3 separate regions of the Homo sapiens genome follow, and all the other regions are linked to region 2. Evidence: promoter capture Hi-C in 16 types of primary human blood cells and fetal thymus (Javierre and others, 2016). All regions are on one chromosome and are shown on one strand. The core of a region is centred on a gene start or on the middle of the fragment in contact, and the rest is flanking DNA. Distances in the headings are between cores, read along the strand shown. Region 1 overlaps LOC124901866. Region 2 holds the start of CLDN23 (claudin 23). Region 3 overlaps ERI1 (exoribonuclease 1).

The links. Contacts are between HindIII fragments. The CHiCAGO score rates a contact against its expected background, and 5 or more counts as called.
Region 1: a fragment that was not itself captured here is called in contact with the fragment with the promoter of CLDN23 in region 2 in 5 of 17 cell types (total B cells, naive B cells, M1 macrophages and 2 more); the score reaches 8.4 in total B cells.
Region 3: a contact is called between a fragment that was not itself captured here and the fragment with the promoter of CLDN23 in region 2, in 8 of 17 cell types (naive B cells, total B cells, M1 macrophages and 5 more). The highest score is 7.9, in naive B cells.

Annotation. Positions count from the first base shown.
Region 1 is chr8:8,981,925-8,986,027 of GRCh38, forward strand. All of the region lies in intron 3 of LOC124901866, which reads left to right. Among named protein-coding and RNA genes, the nearest start is that of ERI1, 19 kb to the right of the region's middle. The HindIII fragment of the contact is 9,598 bases long and covers 1-4,103 here.
Region 2 is chr8:8,699,683-8,703,764 of GRCh38, forward strand. CLDN23 (claudin 23) reads left to right here and starts at 2,255. Exons shown (of 1, transcript NM_194284.3): 1 at 2,255-4,082. The coding sequence starts at 2,717. The coding sequence ends at 3,595. RefSeq lists a silencer at 1,988-2,607 and an enhancer at 2,081-3,048. The HindIII fragment of the contact is 12,864 bases long and covers 1-4,082 here.
Region 3 is chr8:9,004,994-9,008,862 of GRCh38, forward strand. ERI1 (exoribonuclease 1) reads left to right here. Exons shown (of 7, transcript NM_153332.4): 2 at 2,977-3,155. Among named protein-coding and RNA genes, the nearest start is that of ERI1, 4.0 kb to the left of the region's middle. The HindIII fragment of the contact is 1,124 bases long and covers 2,004-3,127 here.

The DNA.
Region 1 (4,103 bases), core at 1,604-4,103, 280 kb after region 2:
TTAAGCCGAGCAGTGAACTTGTGACCTCTTATTTCAGGTTCATGATGCTTTGAAACTCAGCCACAGGAAGCAAAGATATGGGTGGCAAGGCTGGGCACAATAGCTCACGCTTGTAATCCCAGCACTTAGTGAGGTCGAGGCAGGTGGATTGTTTAAGGCCAGGAGTTCGAGACCAGCCTGAGCAACATAGAGAGACCCCCGTCTCTACAAAACAAACAAAAATAGAACAAAGCAAAAACCAGCCAGATGTGGTGGCTCATGCCCAGCTACTCCAGAGCCTGAGGTAGGAGGATCGCTTGAGCCCAGGAAATTGAGGCTGCGGTGAGCTGTGATTGCACCACTGCACTCCAGCCTGGGTGACAGAGTGAGATACTGTCTCAAAAAAAAAAAAAAAAAAGATATGGATGGCAGCAATTTTGCCCCACATGGGGCCGCAGTGAGTGTATCAGGCCATGGTGTTTCTTGGGAAGGAGAATGCAGCAATGTTAATAGTCAACCTATTTAGAAATACAGCAACTATCATTTCCTTCCACAGGTATAGTAGGGAAACTGAGTGGTGCTGTCCACACGCTTGGAACCATTCCTCCAGGGCTGACTTTTTACAGAAAAAGGCTTATTTTATTTTACTTTATTTTTCAAGACAGTTTCACTCTGTCACCCAGGCTGGAATGCAGTGGCACGATCTCCGCTAACTGCAACCTCCACCTCCCAGGCTCAATCAATCCTTCTGCCTCAGCCTCCTGAGTAGCTGAGACTACAGGCACGCACCACCATGCCTGGCTAACTTTTGTATTTTTAGTAGAGATGTGGTTTTGCCATATTGGCCAGACTAGTCTGGAACTCCTAACCTCAAATGATCCAGCTGTCTCGGTTTCCCAAAGTGTTGGGATTACAGGTGTGAGCCATGGCACCTGGCCAGCTTATTGCTTTTTAAACCTGAAATATTTTCATGGACTGGGAGAGACATAATTTTTGTTGTTGTTGTATAAATTCAGCCTCTTTCTTTGCACTGTCTTTTCTATTGAAAGTTGAAAAGTTTGATGGAATTGGAATAGGGAATGTAGTTCTAATTGGACCAGTCAATTCCCAGCTCTTAAAAGCCTGGACTGATAGTCACGGATTCCTTGCAGCCTCACTTTCTTATTCCATAAAGTGGGATCCACAGTACCTAACTGCCGTGACAACTCACAGAACTGTTTTTGTTTTGTATGCTGTTTTTAGAGACAGGGACTTGCTTTGTCACACATGCTGGAGTGCAGTGGTGCGATCATAGCTCACTGCAGCTTCAACTTCCTGGGCTAAAGGGATCCTCCCACCTCAGCCTCCTGGTTAGCTGGGACTACAGGTGCTGCCACCACACTTGACTAATTGTTTAATTTTTTGTAGAGATGGGGTCTTGCTATGCTGCCCTTACTGGTCTTGAACTCCTGGCCTCAAGCAATCCTTGCACCTTGGCCCCCAAAGTGCTAGGATTACAGGCGTCCCTCACCGTTCACACCCTCACAGAACTGTTTTAAGGATCTGATCAGCAAACGGGTGTTAAAATTGCAATAATATTATTTCTTTATCATGAAAGCACTTAATAAGTGTATCATATAACCAGTTTTCCTATTGTGTTTGTGTTTGGATCTGCTAAAAATACATTTTACACTGAGCAGGCTGAAAGAGAAAGCAAAACACCAGAGAGCCCGGTGTTTTCTGACTAATAAAATATTCTACATAATCATGTAATGAACAATTGCTGAACACAAGTCTGGTGAGTTCATTTATGTCAGTAAACAAATTCCAATTTTTTTCAATGAACATATTTTGTAGAATGAAAAATTAATTCAATGTTTTATAATAGTGTGATCACACATTTTGTAGCTGAAAGTCACATCTCTAGGAGGTTAAATGAGAGCTAAGTTTTTATTTATTTATTTTTTTTTTTTTTTTGAGACAGTCTCACTCTGTCCCCCAGGCTGGAGTGCAGGGGCATGATCTTGGCTCACTGCAACCTCCTTATCACGGGCTAAAGTGATTCTCATGTCTCAGCCTCCCAAGTAGCTGGGATTACTGTAGTATGCCACCACACCTGGATAAATTTTGTAATTTTTTAGTAGAGGTGGGGTTTCATCATATTGGCCAGGCTGGTCTCGAACTCGTGGCCTCAAGTGATCCACCTGCCTTGGCCTCCCAAAGTGCTGGGATTACAGGCATGAGCCTCCCAAAGGCTGGGATTACAGGCATTACATCTACCACTCCCAGTGGAGAGCTAAATTTTTAGCAGGTGAGCATCCTCTGGATTATTTTGAGAAGGTTATTTCCTCTCAATAAACATAACAAGTCATAGATCCTGCAGAGATTTAAACGGAAATAAGATGGCTGTGCAAGGAGACAGCAGAGACCGTGGAGACTGAGATAAAATGATAGGAATATTGAAATATGCAAGTAAATAACTACATTGGGAAAAATTAAAGGCAGATATTTTACTGTGGAGGAAGAGATTACAAATATAAAAGGCTGAGAAAAACCTTGAGGTGTGGGGTTGAAACTGATGATATCAGTGTGAACTCATATTTATATAGGCAAAGATACATAAAGATGGAAATATTTATATAGAGTATGTGTATGTGTGTGTCTTCCATCTCCGTTAATGAGAGGTCTCAGAAGCAATGACCCTACTGTAGCAATGAGTATATTCTTCACTAGGCCAGGCGCAGTGGCTCACGCCTGAAATCCCAGCACTTTGGGAGGCCGAGGCGGGTGGATCATTTGAAGTCGGGAGTTCAAGACCAGACTGGCCAACCCAACATGGCAAAACCCTGACTCTATTAAAAATTTTTTAAAAAATTAGCCAGGAGTGGTGGCACACACCTGTAATCCCAGCTACTGGGGAGGCACAGGCAGGAGAATCGCTTGAATCCAGGAGGCTGAGGTTGCAGTGAGCCAAGATTGTGCCACTGCACTCCAACCCGGGTGACAGAGTGAGACTCCACCTCAAAAAAAAAAAAAATTTTTCAATAAAAGACCCAGGACTCCTTAGAGAACTGGCAAATTCCTGGGCCAGGACAAGGGAAAGACAGAATGAGCTTGAAACAGTTTGTTGCACAAGAATGTAAGAAAATGCTAAAAAAAAAAATAATGGGAACATGTCAAAAGGACATAGGAAGCAGCTTGAAGAAACTCCCTTGGCCAAATCTAGGTTAATCTGTGTCATCCCCCTCCCCTAAAAAAATGATAGAAATGGATTACATTTCCTCAAATAAAATAGGAAGCCATGAGTCCATACTGACATATATATATATATATATGTAAATTAAACAGGAAAGCATCTCTTTGTAGTAGAATGTCAACTACAGAAGGAATTATGGAAATAGAAAAAATCATCATTTAAGGCTGGGCGTGGTGGCTCACGCTTCTAATACCAGCATTTTGGGAGGCTGAGGCAGGTGGATCACCTGAGCTCAGGAGTTTGAGACCAGCCTGGCCAACATGGTGAAACCCCATCTCTACTAAAAATACAAAAATTAACTGGGCTTGGTGGCAGGTGCCTGTAATCCTGCTACTCTGGAGGCTGAGACAGGAGAATCACTTGGACCCGGGAGGTGGAGGTTGCAGTGAGCCGAGATTGTGCCATTGCACTCCAGCCTGGACAACAAAGTGAGACTCTGTGTCAAAAAAAAAAAGTTAAAGTCATTGTTTAAGGAGTACCATAATGATAGTTGATTCAGACAGGAATGGGTAATGAATGCTCCAGCCTGTGTGCTGGCATTTGATAAGGTACAGATACTCCTCAACTTACTGTGGGGTTATGACCTCACACATCCATCGTAAGTTGAAAATATCATCATGTTTTAGATGCACAGTGCTTCTTCTGATTACAGAATTTAAATATTCTTGAAATTTCCCTTTCTTTTCTTAATATCAGTGGTTTTGTCACTAAGACTGAAACTTAGCAGTTTAATCTTGTCCTATTTCCATTAAAATATGGTTATTCTTAATACCTACTCAGAATCCCTGCAATGTGAGGTACAAATGAAGATTCTGAGGCTACCCAGATCTATAAAGTCAAATCCTGAAATAAGGACCCCAGGAATCTACATTATTATGGAGTTCCTCGG
Region 2 (4,082 bases), core at 1,005-3,504:
ATGAAGCATTTATGAAGTGGCAGTGTCACACATGATACCTTCTGACATGTATGAGAGGGATGGCAGACTGATTCCTGCTTTAGATAGTTAATCACCACACAGTTAATGAAACAAGACAAATTTTAAATGATGCATAGGCCAGGCACAGTGGCTCACACCTGTAATCTCAGCACTTTGGGAAGCCAAGGTTGGCAGATGAGTTGAGGTCAGGAGTTCGAGACCAGCCTGAGCAACAAGGTAAAATCCCGTCTCTACTAAAAATACAAAAATTATCTGGGCATGGTGGTGGGTGCCTATAATCCCAGCTACTAGGTAGGCTGAGGCAGGAGAACTGCTTGCTTGAACCCAGGAACCAGAGGTTGCAGTGGGCCGAGATTTTGCCGTCACACTCTAGGCTGGGCAGCAGAGCAAGACTCCATCTCAAAAAAAATTTTTTTAATTAAAAAAAATTAAAAGTGATGTATATATCACTATTACATAAATGATGCAACAGCATTATTCACAATAGCCAAAAGGTAAAAGCAATCTAAGTGTCTATGGATGGAAGACTGGATAAACAAAATGTGGTATTTATGCACAATAGAATATCATTCAACCTTCAAAAGGAAGGACATTCTGACACATGCTACAATATGGATGAACCTGGAGGACATTAAGCTCAGTGAAATAAGCCAGTCACGAAAGGACAAATACGGTCCGATTCCAGTTCTATGAGGTACCTAAAGTAGTTAAATTTATAGAGAGAAAAAAGTAGAATGGTGATCACCAGGGCCTGTGAGGGAGGGAGGAAAGGAGAGTTAGTGTTTAGTGGGTACAGTGTCAGTTTGGGAAGAGGAAAAAATCCCAGGAGTGGATGGTGGTGAGGGTATCACAACAATGTGAATGTATGTCATACCAATGAGCTGTACACTTAAAGATGGTTACAACGGTCAACTGTATGTTACATATATGTTACCACAGGTTTTTTTTTTAATTTAAAAATATTCTTTTAAAAAAAGCAGTCACTGTCATTCCTAGTGTTGTCCACTCTGGAATATTCAAAATTATTTCAAACCAATGCTAAATTAACTTGAATTTTAAAAATAGTTTTAATTTTAAACAATTATAAAGGCAATACGTTTTCATTGTAAAAATCTAGAAAATACAAAAAAGTGTTATTAAAGGATAATTTTTAGAAAAAATGTAAACATCGTGACTTTCACACAAATATAAAATGAATATGTGTGAAAGAGGTTATTTAACTCATTATTGAATAAGGAAACCAGTATGATGTTAAAACCAAAGAAGCTGGCCACTTGCCTGCAGTCCTAGCTACTCCAGAGGCTGAGGCGGGAGACTCACCTGAGCCCAGGAGTTTGCAACCAGCCTGGGCAACACAGCGAAACTCCCCAACCCTGTTTAAAATAAATAAATAAATAAATAAATAAATAAATAAATAAAAGAAAAAGGAAAAAAAAAAAGCAAAGAACAAAAGGACACACATATACAGACAAACAGGAATGCTAAAATGAATTTACAAATCAATGCCATACTGGTCAGTATCCATTGGACAATAATCATTCCACTGGGACGAACTCATTAGCCTTGATGTTGGCAAAAGTCATTTGCAATACTACAGGCTTTCTATAATTTATAGAGTTGTAAAATAACCTACAGACGAGAAAGGCCACAGTACACTGTAAAATTAAATAAACCTGCAAAAAACGCTAAGCAGGACATCCGGGAACACTGGTCCCTCTTTCTAGTCCCCTTGAAAGTCTCACAAGGCTGAAAAAGGAAAGTAAAATCCTTGTGTAACCCTTCTGCCCAGAAGTACACTGGCACAGATTCTTTAGAGACGAATTTAATCCAGAGTGTGGAGCCTTTATTAAGGAAATAATCCGGTGCAACGTTCTGGGACACGCTCCTGGACTGGGTGGGCTTCTGCACACTCACCCAGCGCACCTCCAATCCCCGGGAGCGCTCGGCACCGCCCACTTCTCTGCGAGTGGCTGCAAGTTGCAGAGCAAACCAGGGGGCGATCTGGAACCCTCTGGGAGTAAAGGGCTAAGCTATAAGCGCAGGGTCGACGGGCAGGGACCGGAAACAAATTCTAGGAACCGAGATCCGCTGAGCAGCAGGGAAGCTGCGCAGCCACCGCGTCCCGCCAGCGCCGCCTCTTTCCCTCCCCGCCCACCGCCCGCCTGGCCCGGCGGGGCGGCGCGAGGACCCAGGGGCGGGGCGACCTTTGCTCCGGCCGTGAGCAGTCCAGGCCAGGCGTGGCCCAGCCGCCCGGCTGCAAGGTGGGGTGTCCCCGCCGCTCGGATCCCCATCTCACCTGCCGCGGGCGAGGTGGCCCCGCCGCTTCCTGCGCTCACCTCGGGTCCCTCCCTCCCGGGCCAGGTTTGGCCGCGGCAGCCGCCCCTGGGCGCCCGCGCCCGGACCCGCGGTTTCGGTCAGACCCGCCCGCGGGCTGGTTTCGATTAGGGCCAGTAGGAGGGCGGAGCGGCCGGGACGCCAGGAGGGAACTAGCCTAAGTGGGGACGGTCCCCGTGCAGGAGACAAAGAGCGTCCCTGGAGCGATCAGGGCTCAGGAGCCCGACCCGGAGCCCGGGGCGTCCGCGCTGACTTCGGGTCCCCGGAGCCTGGGGCACGGCAGGGAGAAGACGACGGCGGAGAAGGCGACAGCGGAGAAGGAAGGCAGGCTGCAGGGGCGCCGTCGGCGCGGCGGGCCGGGATGCGGACGCCGGTGGTGATGACGCTGGGCATGGTGTTGGCGCCCTGCGGGCTCCTGCTCAACCTGACCGGCACCCTGGCGCCCGGCTGGCGGCTGGTGAAGGGCTTCCTGAACCAGCCAGTGGACGTGGAGTTGTACCAGGGCCTGTGGGACATGTGTCGCGAGCAGAGCAGCCGCGAGCGCGAGTGCGGCCAGACGGACCAGTGGGGCTACTTCGAGGCCCAGCCCGTGCTGGTGGCGCGGGCACTCATGGTCACCTCGCTGGCCGCCACGGTCCTGGGGCTTCTGCTGGCGTCGCTGGGCGTGCGCTGCTGGCAGGACGAGCCCAACTTCGTGCTGGCAGGGCTCTCGGGCGTCGTGCTCTTCGTCGCTGGCCTCCTCGGCCTCATCCCGGTGTCCTGGTACAACCACTTCTTGGGGGACCGCGACGTGCTGCCCGCCCCGGCCAGCCCGGTCACGGTGCAGGTCAGCTACAGCCTGGTCCTGGGCTACCTGGGCAGCTGCCTCCTGCTGCTGGGCGGCTTCTCGCTGGCGCTCAGCTTCGCGCCCTGGTGCGACGAGCGTTGTCGCCGCCGCCGCAAGGGACCCTCCGCCGGGCCTCGCCGCAGCAGCGTCAGCACCATCCAAGTGGAGTGGCCCGAGCCCGACCTGGCGCCCGCCATCAAGTACTACAGCGACGGCCAGCACCGACCGCCGCCTGCCCAGCACCGCAAGCCCAAGCCCAAGCCCAAGGTCGGCTTCCCCATGCCGCGGCCGCGGCCCAAGGCCTACACCAACTCGGTGGACGTCCTCGACGGGGAGGGGTGGGAGTCCCAGGACGCTCCCTCGTGCAGCACCCACCCCTGCGACAGCTCGCTGCCCTGCGACTCCGACCTCTAGACGCTTGTAGAGCCTGGGGGGCGCCGGGTGGCAAAGGACTCACCCCCGCACAGGCCCGCCTGGCTTCGAGTTGGAACCCGGACACTTGCCCCTCACTGGTGTGGATGGAAATCTGCCTTTCGTGGGACCAAACAGGACTCCTTGGACGATTAGTTCAGGTTGGGTTTGGTTTTCTTCTTAAAGAGTTTAGTTTTCCTCTCCAGAGGGATCAGGGTCCTCTTAGGGAGTGACGGGCTTTTCATATATTTTTGCTGAAGAATATATGGAAAGGGTGGCATTTGCGTCACGTGGACCAGGGACAGTGCTGAAATCAGCAGTGCTCAGAAACAATTTAACATGTTGAAACGACAATATTCTAAAATACTGATGAATCTTGCATCAATATAATTATTGGGTTTTTTTTCTTTTTCCTGCTGTATAACTCCTTGCCATGCAAACTCTCAAGAGGCCAATATATTCCTGGCCATGTTTGAATGAGCCTCTTAAA
Region 3 (3,869 bases), core at 1,316-3,815, 310 kb after region 2:
ACAGTGTTTTTCAATCTGGGCCAAAGTTTTTTGTTGAATTCAGGTGGTAAATTTCCATTATCTCTAATGCTAGTTGTCTTTGTAAACTAGTAGAAGCTATTGCATATTTATATTTTTAATAAGTAGGTTCAGATTTCATCAGAACTCTCCTTTTGGAAGAACGTCAATCAAGAAAAATTCTAAGTTTTTTTTCAGTGTGCAGATGCAGAGGTTTTCCTTTTCTTTTTTTAAAAGGTAGTACCTAGATTTTTGGCAGCAGAATAATAGCATTTCCAGAACATGTTTTCAAAATGTTCTCTATACAGAAAAAGTTTTATTTGACAAGCAGTTACTTTGTAGCTTACTGTTAAAATGTGTTTTCTTTTTTCTTGCAACAACAGATTGTGTTCCTTTAAAAAAATGCTAAAAATCAAGCTCCGGTACCCTTCCCAATAAGAAGAGGACAGCAATTATAGAATACCTGTCTTTTTGTAAAAGAAAATTTGTAACTCATCTTTAAGTTCAACAACAGTTTTTTTATGTTTTTTTTTTTTTTTTTTGAGAGGGAGTCTCTCTCTGTTGCCCAGGCTGGAGTGCAGCGGCTCAGTCTCGGCTCGCTGCAAGCTCCGCCTCACGGGTTCACGCCATTCTCCTGCCTCAGCCTCCTGAGTAGCTGGGACTACAGGCGCCCGCCCGGCTAATTTTTTGTATTTTTAGTAGAGACGGGGTTTCACCGTGGTCTCTATCTCCTGACCTCGTTATCCGCCCGCCTCGGCCTCCCAAAGTGCTGGGATTACAGGCGTGAGCCAACGCGCCCGGCCTCAACGACAGTTTTAAAGTAGTTTGCCACAAGATAGTAAACCTCTGTTTGGTATAGAAGATTTTCATGGCCACATCCCATAATGTAAAAGCTTCTCTTATTTGAGATAATATAAACCATACATCCACTTAATTGAATACGTGAATATTGCAAAATGTTACAGTTCTGTGATGGTGAATGTTTCTCTCCATATTGTGGAATCTATCACTTTTCTCATTATATGGTCCGTATTATATGTGACATGTGATAGGTGGATGTAGTTACTGGTACGGATGCTGATGCAAATGTAAGTATGTATTTCGTAAACTAATTTTGTCTTTCTGCAGATTAACAATACAAGTAGGGTTTTTAGTATTTTCTTTCTGCTCCTTGGCAGATTGATTTGAGCATCCTTCTTTGTGAACCATTAGTGTAGATTTGAAATTTGGGAGGAGACACTGCTTTCTGAGGATTGGACCTCGGCTGTCTCTAGAACTTCACTGAAGGAAGAGAACTAGAGCTGGACCTAGGAAAGGAAGCAAATTTTTCTTTATGGAAGTCATAATTTATAGCATCTATAGAAGAGGCCTAAGTGTTACTTGTGAATAATTTTTCTAGCTACAGTTTAGGATGAGAATTAACCAGTGAATCAGAAAGAGGATTTATCCAAAGAGAAAATCTGCTTAAATTAACTGAGACATCTGTTTTGGTAGACAAACTGTTACTTAATGTTGACCTAAATTTTAACCTGAAATTTACTAAATGATGACTAAAGATGAAGTTTCAAATTCAATGTAAATTTAAAGTCAAAAGATAATTTTTTGTAAAATTCTGGTCAAGCAGAGCAATATCTATTGTAAATCTAATATATTGTTGAAAGTGAATCATTGGTCAACTAGCAATACTTTTTTTTTCCTTAACATTGTTAACAAGGAACCTCAGTGTGGCTGTTCTTTAATTTATGGACAGTTCACACATTGGAACTGCTGACCTCTTCCTCAAAGGAAATGGGTGAGTCACTCTTGAGTACTCTGGCACCTTACCTAGCATTACATTTCCAGTAAATGTGTGTTGCATTAAATTGAGAGCTTAGAGTAAGAAATGGTTCCTGAACCATCAGGATCAGTTCTGAGTTAGGGACTGTGGCCTCTCTGTGATTATCCTTCCTTGATCTATAATTACAGTTTACGTGAGGACAATGTGGTACATTATAACTAAGGTAACAAGCTTTAATAGGGATAATTAGTACTAAATATTTTTCAAAATTATGGAACATAGCTAATATTTGTGATATTGCATGTGGAAAATAACTTACAAATGAATCTTTGGAACTTAACATATTAGTAATTTGAGACTGCCTGTGGAGAAAATAGAATTGAGTCATGTTTTTTCTTAACAGATTTTTATTTATGAAAAAATTCATAATTCTATAGTTCTTCTGGTTAGTGGACCTAAGTACAACTTTTGGAAAATGTAAGTTTTGAAATTAAATACATTTCCTTCTTTGAGTACTAGGAAGCTGTAAATTAGATTTGCGGTCCATTTTGTTTTTATGTTGGGCAATTTTTGTTAACTTTGTGAAATGAAGTCAGGTTAAAAAATTATCAGAAGTTATTACACATGTATAATGTAAAAGTTCATTTAAAAATGGGTTCATTTGTAAATATTAGCATATTGTTTGTGAAGGGCTTGTTGTATAGCCTGTGATATTAATAGTTACCATTTATTAATAGCTACTGTGGGTGTAGGGGTCTGATACACATAATCTCATTTAATCTTTGTAATAATTCTGCCCAAACACTATTTACCATTACCAAATTACCATTTTATAGATAAGGAAATTGAGGATCAGAGGCTAATACGTAGCTATCCAAAGTCATGCTGCTATTTCTAGTAAATAGTCAGCTGGGGTTCTCTATTGAGGTGGTGTTGACTCCCACCACCAGTCTTCTTTTTACTTAGCTTTGTTTCCTTTGAGGAACCTCATGACTCATAATAGAGTGGGGTAAATTGTATTGGAGACGCATCTTCCTTCTTATCCTTTCCTCCGTTTAGGAGCTGCAGTGAACACTTTTCATTGAACATGTAGCATGAAGAGGCTTCAGAAGTTTGAAAGTTTGAATCTTTAAATCTGTGATGTTTGTACTAATTATAAACTACATCCTTTTTTTTTTTTTTTTTTTTTTTTTTTTTGGTAGGAAACTCAACAGTGTAAATTTGATGGCCAGGAGACAAAAGGATCCAAGTTCATTACCTCCAGTGCGAGTGACTTCAGTGACCCGGTTTACAAAGAGATTGCCATTACGAATGGCTGTATTAATAGAATGAGTAAGGAAGAACTCAGAGCTAAGCTTTCAGAATTCAAGCTTGAAACTAGGTAATTAAAAATAACTTATAAAATTATAAAAGTAGTACATGCTCATTTTAGAAAATCTTGAAAACATTGAAATATTAAAAATCATCTGTAATCCTACCGTAATGACATGATCCTATTAACAGTTCACAAAAACTAATTAACATTTTTTATGTGCAACTCTGATTATTTTTGTCTGTCTTCTAGATGATAGGACTGCTGAATCAAAGTCAAATATTTTAATGACCTACCGGCAATGTATAGGAGTCTCTGTCTTATTATGACAAGAGTGTTTTAAATTTTTTTAGTTGCTCATTTAAATGATGGATAGTTATATTAGTGAGATAGAGTATTTTTTATTTTCTTTTTGCCATTTGTATCTTTTATAAAAAGAGTTTGTTTGAAATCAGGTACAATAAATTAAAAACATTCACTTAACAGGAATATTTTTTGTTTTAATTTCTAAAAAATAATCTACAATGATCGTTTGCATTATGTTTCACTGTATATTGAGTGAGAAAACAATGCAACTTAGTCAACTGTATGTGTATTTTAATGAGATATACACATACCTAAGTTTTTAGTAATTTTTTGCGAAACAAATCACTTTACGTTCATTGGGCCATGGGGCAGAAATGGCTTTTGGAGTCCAGAAAAATACATCGATTTTTGATAAACGGTAGAACTGCCAGGCATCAAGAAAAAAAATTGCCTGTATGAAATAGGTAAAAACTCTTC